Regions from separate parts of the Homo sapiens genome. Here region 2 is linked to region 1. Evidence: promoter capture Hi-C in 16 types of primary human blood cells and fetal thymus (Javierre and others, 2016). All regions are on one chromosome and are shown on one strand. The core of a region is centred on a gene start or on the middle of the fragment in contact, and the rest is flanking DNA. Distances in the headings are between cores, read along the strand shown. Region 1 holds the start of SCAT8 (S-phase cancer associated transcript 8). Region 2 has its middle 25 kb from the start of PTP4A1.

Evidence for each region. Contacts are between HindIII fragments. The CHiCAGO score rates a contact against its expected background, and 5 or more counts as called.
Region 2: a contact is called between a fragment that was not itself captured here and the fragment with the promoter of SCAT8 in region 1, in 3 of 17 cell types (monocytes, M1 macrophages and M0 macrophages). The highest score is 8.6, in monocytes.

The regions. Positions count from the first base shown.
Region 1 is chr6:63,804,315-63,808,528 of GRCh38, reverse strand. SCAT8 (S-phase cancer associated transcript 8) reads right to left here and starts at 1,693. Exons shown (of 2, transcript NR_157848.1): 1 at 1,643-1,693. It overlaps EYS (eyes shut homolog), which reads left to right. Exons shown (of 43, transcript NM_001142800.2): 37 at 2,157-2,339. The HindIII fragment of the contact is 5,141 bases long and covers 1-4,214 here.
Region 2 is chr6:63,594,879-63,599,196 of GRCh38, reverse strand. No RefSeq gene overlaps it. Among named protein-coding and RNA genes, the nearest start is that of PTP4A1, 25 kb to the right of the region's middle. RefSeq lists enhancers at 456-515, 596-755. The HindIII fragment of the contact is 7,361 bases long and covers 1-4,318 here.

The sequences.
Region 1 (4,214 bases), core at 444-2,943:
AGATTTCTTGATATCAAAGTTCTTATTTTCATCCTTGACCAAAGTTTGGTCCTCCAGCTCTCTGTCTAATCTATGATTCACACTTCATCAACAGAATAATATTTCTAAAAAGCAACTTTGATCATTGCCCAACTACTTTAGGATAATAAAGAAAATATATAGTTCTTCATGATTTGACCACTGTCTATCTTGTTTCATTTCCTTCCACTCTCACTTTTCTTCTTCATTCTAAAATTTGCAGACTTCATAAGTTCCCTGAGTATGACATGCTGTTTTGGTCTTCACACCCTAGAACATGCTGTTTCTTCTGCCTGAAAGTTCTTATACCAGGCCTCAACTTTCAGTCCAGTTCAGCTGAATAAATGTATTGACTTCACACTAATCCCTTGAGTGACTAGTGCTTTTTTATCTTTGTGTCACCAGCATCTAGCACAGGTTCTGACAGTAAAATACCATATATATGAGATACGTATTTGTCAATCTAGCCTAAATGTAACCTTTAGGTAGACTCAGTTGTAAATTATTAACAGGAAGAAATATTAAAAGCAAAAGATAGTCATTCCTTTTCTATTTTAGTATTAAATTTAACTGAATTCTATTTTCATAGTTTTTAATGCCAACATTGAATGATGGTCAGTATTTTTATTCTGTTTCAACTCCAGTACATTTCATTTCCCTCAATCACCCTCCCCATAGTACTACTGAAAGTGATATACCTGAGAGTGTTATTATCTCAGGGACACAAATTATAAAGTTTTCATTAGATTAAAAAATAAGTATAAGAAGCAATATGTCTCAAAAGTCCCTACTTCACATTCTGGTGAGTTTTGAGAAAATTACATTTAACCTATGCCACACATCCCAGGGAATAAACTGATAAGATTTTAATAAAATATCAAAACAAAGTATTCAGCTTCACACAAATATCTTAGTTTAATAGTCATAATAAACTGATAAGATTTTAATAAAATATCAAAACAAAGTATTCAGTTTATTCACACAAATATCTTAGTTTAATAGTCATATAAAACAAAGATATACAAGCCTTTGATAATAAGCATCATTTTTCCTAAATTATTTGCTGTATACACAATTATAAACAGACATAAGAAGCTCTTTTAAGTGTTACATACCAGAGTGAGTATATTTCTTAAGGCTTGTAAAAATTCTAATTTTACAGCTTCCCTGGAGTTCCAACATCTCTTGAGAAGGAAACAACATAAGCTCTTATTTCCTCAACCGAGCTGTCCCCAACCAATAAAAATAGATCCTAGGAACATCCCTTAATCTGGTGACATCATCCATAAAAGACAGGAATGGGGTGTCAAAATCCCCTTTCTATTTTCTGTTGTCCTCTTTGGGTAAGGAGATTTAAAAAACCAGTGGAGACTTATGAAGGAAACAGTACAATGAAAGAGAAGAGTTCGATACAAGAAGCAACCCTCAGTTAAATTCTATTTTGTTCACACTGGCCCTTGAACTTCATCTAATTTTACCATTTCCTGTTTTTAATAAATCTCCCTACACTTTCACACCAATTGAATTCCATGTTTTTATTACTTAAGAAGCATCTCAGCAAAGAAATAATGAACATTTCTTTTAGACAATTATTTTTACTTAAAGAAAAGCTCTGGTCACTCACCAATGATGATAGAAAACTGACCGATTTCCTTCCTATTTCTTGACTTTCCTAGCCCTGACCTGGGGCTTTGGCTCAGATAAAGGTGCAGGATTAGAAAAGCACAGTTTGTTCAAAGGTGTGAGCTCCTCTCTAAGTCATATCCAGGTTTTGGATGCCAAATCATGTTTACGAGGCACCTGAGTAAATACTTTGTTTGGCTGCCAGTAATCTTTTCTATTTCTAAAATTAAGTTTCAAAATATAGGGGTTTGCTTTTTAAGTAAATTATCCATTATGTAGAAAGAGTATGCTAGTGAAAGGATTATATAGAAGATCTCAAAACACTGCATTTCCTTTGTTCTGGTTTTGAAATTTCCTGTTGAGTCACTTAGTTGCTCAATGCTGAAGGGCACTAAAGTATAATTAATGTAATAGTAAACAGACTATCTGGCCAGATGCATCAGCAAAACGTAACCCTCACTTTACAAATACATGTACAGGTTTATTTTAACTGTTTGGTTTGGGTTTTTTCACAGCTATTAATATTACTCAGCCAAGGTTCAGTGGCACAGATGCCTTTGGATACACCTCATTCCTGGCTTATTCACGGATCTCAGACATCAGCTTCCATTATGAATTCCACCTGAAGTTTCAGCTGGCAAACAACCACTCAGCACTGCAAAATAACTTGATATTTTTTACTGGACAGAAAGGCCATGGTAAGATTAACTGAACCCTCTAGGACTTGCCTCGCTCCTTTAAGAATACTTTAGAGATTCCTCAGGGACACTCTAATTGGCTGTGGTAAAAAAAAGACCTTTGCCTAGATGCAGCCTCCTCCTGTTTTCTGCCTTGAGCATGTTCGCTGTAGTCCAAAGTACTTAGCAGTTCCCTGATCCTTTCTGAAGCTCTACTTTGCATCAGGGCTACTGTATTAGTCAGTTTTCATGCTGCTGTAAAGAACTGCCAGAGACTGGGTAATTTACAAAGGAAAGAAGTTTAATTGACTCACTGTTCAGCATGGCTGGGGAGGCCTCCGGAAATTTACAAGCATGGTGGAAGGGGAAGAGGAAGCAGAGTACTTTCTTCACAAGGCAGCAGGAAGACGTGCCTAGTAAAGGGGAGAATTTCTCCTTATAAAACCATCAGATCTCCTGAGAACTCACTCACTATCACGAGAACGCATGAGGAAAACCACCCCCATGATTTAATTACCTCCACCTGGTCTCTCCCTTGACACCTGGGGATTATGGGGATTACAATTCAAGATGAGGTTTGCGTGGGAACACAAAACCTAACCATATCAGCTACCTTTCATAATCAAAAGAAAAAATTCCTACAGGCAAACATGAGGACAGGGAAGGTGACCAAGTCACATGGGAAGTAAGTTTATTGATTTGTCCTTTCCTCTGTTTCTTTCTGTTTCCATGTCTGAAGAGAGAAGGGAAATTCTCATTTTTCCATGTGTTATAAAATGGAAATGGTTGTTGCCCTCAAAGAAAACCATTCTAAATTAAAGGAGCAAGAAATTAAGAAAGTACTCAGCCTGTAACAAAGTACTCTAGTGCCCTGGAATTGGTGGGAAATCAACTTATAACTTACATTTGTCTCTCTTAAGTAGAAACTAGTTATGCATGTGCTAAGTCAAGGAAAATTACCTATGTTTTACTTTTAAGTCTGCAATCAACAGTTAAGCAATTAATCACCTAACTTCTCTGAGTTCAGTGTTTTCATCTGTGAGATCAACATATTGTAACAGAAAAAGACCTTTCTCTCAGCTGTCAGTGGTTCTACGGTGCTAGGGTAAATAACATATTCTGTTTTTTTCAACTCAATCAGTGACTGTCTCTTAATACCAAACACTCTTTTCTGTATCAGCATATGTCTGAAAGGAGCCTACACCCCAAATGAAATGTGGTATTTCAGACTCCCACCATGTCTGCTAGGATGGGGTACTCTATCATGTAAAGTACTATTCATTCTACCTCCAAAATTTGTTTGAATCTCTTCCCCATCCCTATGCTGAAACCTCATGACCTCTTCCTGACTGGTCTCCCTACTGATTTCCTGCCTGCAATTAATTATCCACATTGTAATAAGAGTTAGCCTCTTAAAAGGTTTATTAGATCATGTCTGAACCTTGTTTAAAACCCATCTGTGGCTTTTTACTGCACTTAGAATGCAATCCAAACCTCCTTATCATGTTCTCAAAGGGCCTTCAGGATCAGATCCCAGTCTGCATCTCTGAACACAACCAGGCCACTCTCACTATCTCTGTGCTTTTCTCCTACAGCTCTTCTTCCAGTGCCTTAACCACCAAGTGCTTTCCTGTCTCAGAGGTTTGGTGCATGCTTTTTCCTCAGCCTTGACAGGAAATAGCTATCATAGTGGTCAAGGGAGCAGGCTCTAGAGACTGGTGATGTAGACATGAATCAGTCTCCACCATGTGCAAATTATGTGTCAAGTTACTTAATGTCTTTGTGCCTCTATTTTCTAACCTATCAAATGAGTATAGTAACAGTGTATTTCCTTACAGCGTTGTGAGGAATAACGAACTTAATACATGGGAAGCTCTTAAAATATTGTTGGACTCG
Region 2 (4,318 bases), core at 1,310-3,809, 210 kb after region 1:
CTTATTACCAATTTATCTCTGTAAGAGGGAAGTACCAGAACTTAAAAAGAAGCATGGGCCTACAAATGTAAAGAAATTGATTTGCATTTATAAATAATGGAGACGGCAAGGTTCTGAGAAGTACTCAGCTGGTATTATCTCAAACTTGACTTTATTGATGATTTTTAACCACGAAATTTAGACTTTCCATAAGGATTATAACTTGCTTGTTTATCCCATTTCTTGGCTAAGGATGGGAACTACATTTCCCAGAATCCTCTTCCCTATATGGTTCTAGGTTAGAATTGAACAAAAGAGGAATGTGTATGAGATTTGAAAAGTGAATGAAACTGAAGCGACTGTGCTCAAAAGGTCATTGCTGTGAAACCGGGCGACAGGTAGAGACAGATGCTGCGAGTCCCAGCTTGTCCTGCTGTTCTCCATTCTGTGTCTTGCCTCTCTTGCCACCTGCTGGTTCGGCTGATCAATAACAGCCCCTGACCCAGGGTGTAGGCGATAGCTACACAAAGACGAACCTTTCCCCAGAGATGGCAATTTCGAGACCCTCCATGAATACGCTCTTTGCAGTCCCACTTTGGCAACTGGTCACGCTTGATTTCCTGGATTTCTCGGCCAGCTGCAGTTTGTTACTCACATCAGTGCTTCAGTGGACTCTTCAGCCTATTTCTCTGATTCTCTGACTCTCCCTTCCAGACCTTCACTTTTGCAACTCTTTTCATATTCGTGTAAGTCCTAATTCCTATAGTAAATTAGTTATTCTCATTATCATTACAGTGTCTCTTGGAACTCTTCGATCTTCGTGCTCGGCTGTCTTTATTGCTTCAGGTGTCTTCCCTGATAGTTGCAAATGGCCACCACAACCGAGCGTTCCCTACTCACCTGACGTTGCTCCAAGCAGCAAGCAAGCGCACGGGTACTTACAAGTCTTTCTCCATACAATCTTCTCTTGTTTCAGGAAAGAATGTTGTTTTTACCAGAAGCCTCTAACAGAATTCCCCTCTAAGTCTCCTAGGTCAGATCAGGCATCTTCCCCTGGTCACTGATAAAGGAGCTAAATTGCCATGATTGGCTCAGACTTGTGGTCCTGTCCTTGGCTGCACAACAGGGAACATTTTAAAACGTATTTGCACCCGCACCCAACTTGCAACGATTCTGATCGAATTGTTTTGGGGTGGTGCTGTGGCTCAATATTTGTAAAATGCTTTCGCAGAGATTATAATGTGCAGCCAGGGTTGAGAACCACTGCTTGGATCAAACATGATTCATTCTCTTAATATTTCACAGTGCCTGAGCAAATCAGTGTTCTGTATAAGGAAGAAGGTAGAAATGCTGAGGGATTGGCAATCAAGATTTATTCATCCAAATTATCTCATTCAAGCATGACCGATGGAATAGATGGAAATATGACTAAATTTCCCACTTGATTTTCATCATCTAACATCACTAAGAGTTACCAGAGTTTAAACAAGTTATTTGACTAAATCTAGGAATAATAATACAACAGCTATTCTCTATTCCTTAGTTACTGGAAGTAAAGCCATTCTGAATGAGCTACTAAACCACGTGGCACAGAGCTCAAGAAATAACTATTCCTTTGTGGGGCACCTAATGAATTAGCCTTATTTAATTACTTATATAATTAATTGCATGATTAATATAATTAATTATATAATTAATTGCATGATTAATATAATTAATTATATAATTAATTGCATGATTAATATAATTAATTATGGGGGTGGGAACATGGAGAGATGGTCAAAGGGTACAAAGTTTCAGTTAGAAAACATGTTTTTGAGATATATCGCACAGCATGGTGACTATAGTTAATAATGTATCTTTCAAAATTGCTAACAGGGCAAATTTTAAATATACCACAAAAAATGGTAAGTATGTGAGGTGATGGATTTAATTAGCTTAATTTAATCATTTTACAATACGTAGATATATCAAAACATCACATTGTACCCCACAAATATATATAATTGTCAATTAAAAACAATTAAAATCTTTAAAAAAATCCCTGTAGTTCTGAATTTGAGTTGGAAGTATCAGTATGATATTGTAACATTATTTTTTTTTTGTATTTTCATTATAATTAATTTTTTTTTTTTTTGTGAGAGAGGGTCTCACTTTGTCACCCAGGCTGGAGTGCAGTGGCAAGGATCTCAGCTCACTGCAACCACCCCCTCCTGTGTTCAAGCGATTCTCAAGGCTCAGCTCTCTGAGTAGCTGGGATTACAGTTGCACATCACCATGCTCAGCTAATTTTTGTATTTTTAGTAGAGATGGGGTTTTATCATGTTGGCCAGGCTGGTCTCGAACTCCTGACCTCAAGTGATCTGCCTGCCTTGACCTCCCAAATTGTTGGGATTACAGGCATGAGCCACAGCACCCAGTCTCAGTATAGTTTATTTTATACTACAGTTTAATTATCTTTATAGTGCACTTATTTTTTTCCACTTATTTTTTGAGACTGGATCTCCCTCTATCGCCCAGCCTGGAGTACAGTGTTGCAATCTTGGCTCACTGCAACTTCTGCCTCCCAGGCTCAAGCTGTCCTCCCACTTTAGCCTCCATAATAGCTGGGACTATAGGCACAGACCACCATGCCCATCTAAGTTTTGTATTTTTTGTAGAGAGGGGTTTTGCCATGTTGCCCAGGCTGGTCTTGAACTCCTGGTCTCAAGCCATCTGCCTACATCAGCCTCCCAAAGTGCTGGGATTACGGGAGTGAGCCACCATGCCTGGCCAGTATAATGCACTTACTTCTTAAACTCTGACTTTCTTTCTGCCACTTTTGCTTATAATTACATAATTTTTTGATATAATATTATAATATTTACCCTTAGGAGAGATCAGAATCATACATCACTCCTCACAGAAATTGAGAGACTTTTTTCCTGTTAAACAGCATGTTTTAGTGATTTCTCTATTGCCATGGTAAGGCAAGCCAGGTTAAATCAGAGGAGAATGTTTAAGGGAATGTTCCTGAAAATTGTCTTATTTCTTATCTTCACTTTTGTGCATGGATACAGAATTTGTGTCTATTTCATGAATTTCAGATTAACTTGTATAGAAAAGTCATTATGATGTTCTCTAAAATGCAAATGTGTTAGATTAATTTACAAACTATTTGAAAAGTTAGGCATTTCCTTCATTCTCCTTTCATTTAAAATTATTGCAAAAGCATAGAAATATTCAGATCATGTGGAGTATGTACATCCAAAATAGATAATTTAAAAAATTATCTTGATTCTGCCATTGGAATTTTTAAAACAACTTTACTGAGGTATAATTCACATACTGTATGGTTCGTCCATTTACAGTGTACAACTCAATGTCTCCCACAATATTCACAAAGTTGTGTAACCACCACCACAATCAATATTAGAATATTTTCATCACCCCGAAAAGAAATTCTGCATCTCTTAGCCATCACGGCCGCCCTCTTCCATGTTCCTTCACTTTCACCATTCCTAGGCAAACACCATCTACTTTTTGTGTCCATAGATTTGTCTGTTCTGGACATTTCATATAGATAAAGTCATACAAAATGTAGTTTTCTTTTTTAAAATTGTATTTTATTGGCCGAGCGAGGTGGCTCATGCCTGTAATCCCAGAACTTTGGGAGGCCGAGGCAGGTGGATCACCTGAGGTCAGGAGTTCAAGACCAGCCTGACCAACATGGCGAAATCCTGCCTCTACTAAAAAAACAAAAACATTAGGCAGGCGTGGTGGTGCATGCCTGTAATCCCAGCTACTCGGTAGGCTGAAGCAGAGAATTGCTTGAACCCGGGAGGCTGAAGTTGCAGTGAGCCAAGATCACGCCATTGCACTCCAGCCTCGGCAACAAGAGCAAAACTCTGTCTCAAAAAAAAAAATTGTATTTTAGATTCAGAGGATATGGTGCATGCTTGCTATGTGGGTATATTGGTGGATATTGGGCTTCTAGTTTACCCATTACCCAAATAGTGAACATTGTACCCAAAAGGTAATTTTTCGGCCCTTGCTCCCTTCCCACCCTCCCCTCTTCTGGAGTCCTCAGTGTCTATAATTTTCATCTTTATGTCCATATGTACCCATTGTTTAACTCCTACTTATATGTGAGAACATGTAGTGTTTGGTTTTCTGTTTCTGAGTTAGTTCACTTATGATAATGACCTCCAGCTCCACCCACATTGCTGCAAAGGATATGATTTCATTCTTTTTTGTGGTTATGCTTCTTTTTTAAAAGTATTTTTTTTACCTTTGTCCACTGAAAAGACCTGGAGATAATGACCAACCCAGTAAAAATAACATGTATTACGCAGACTGT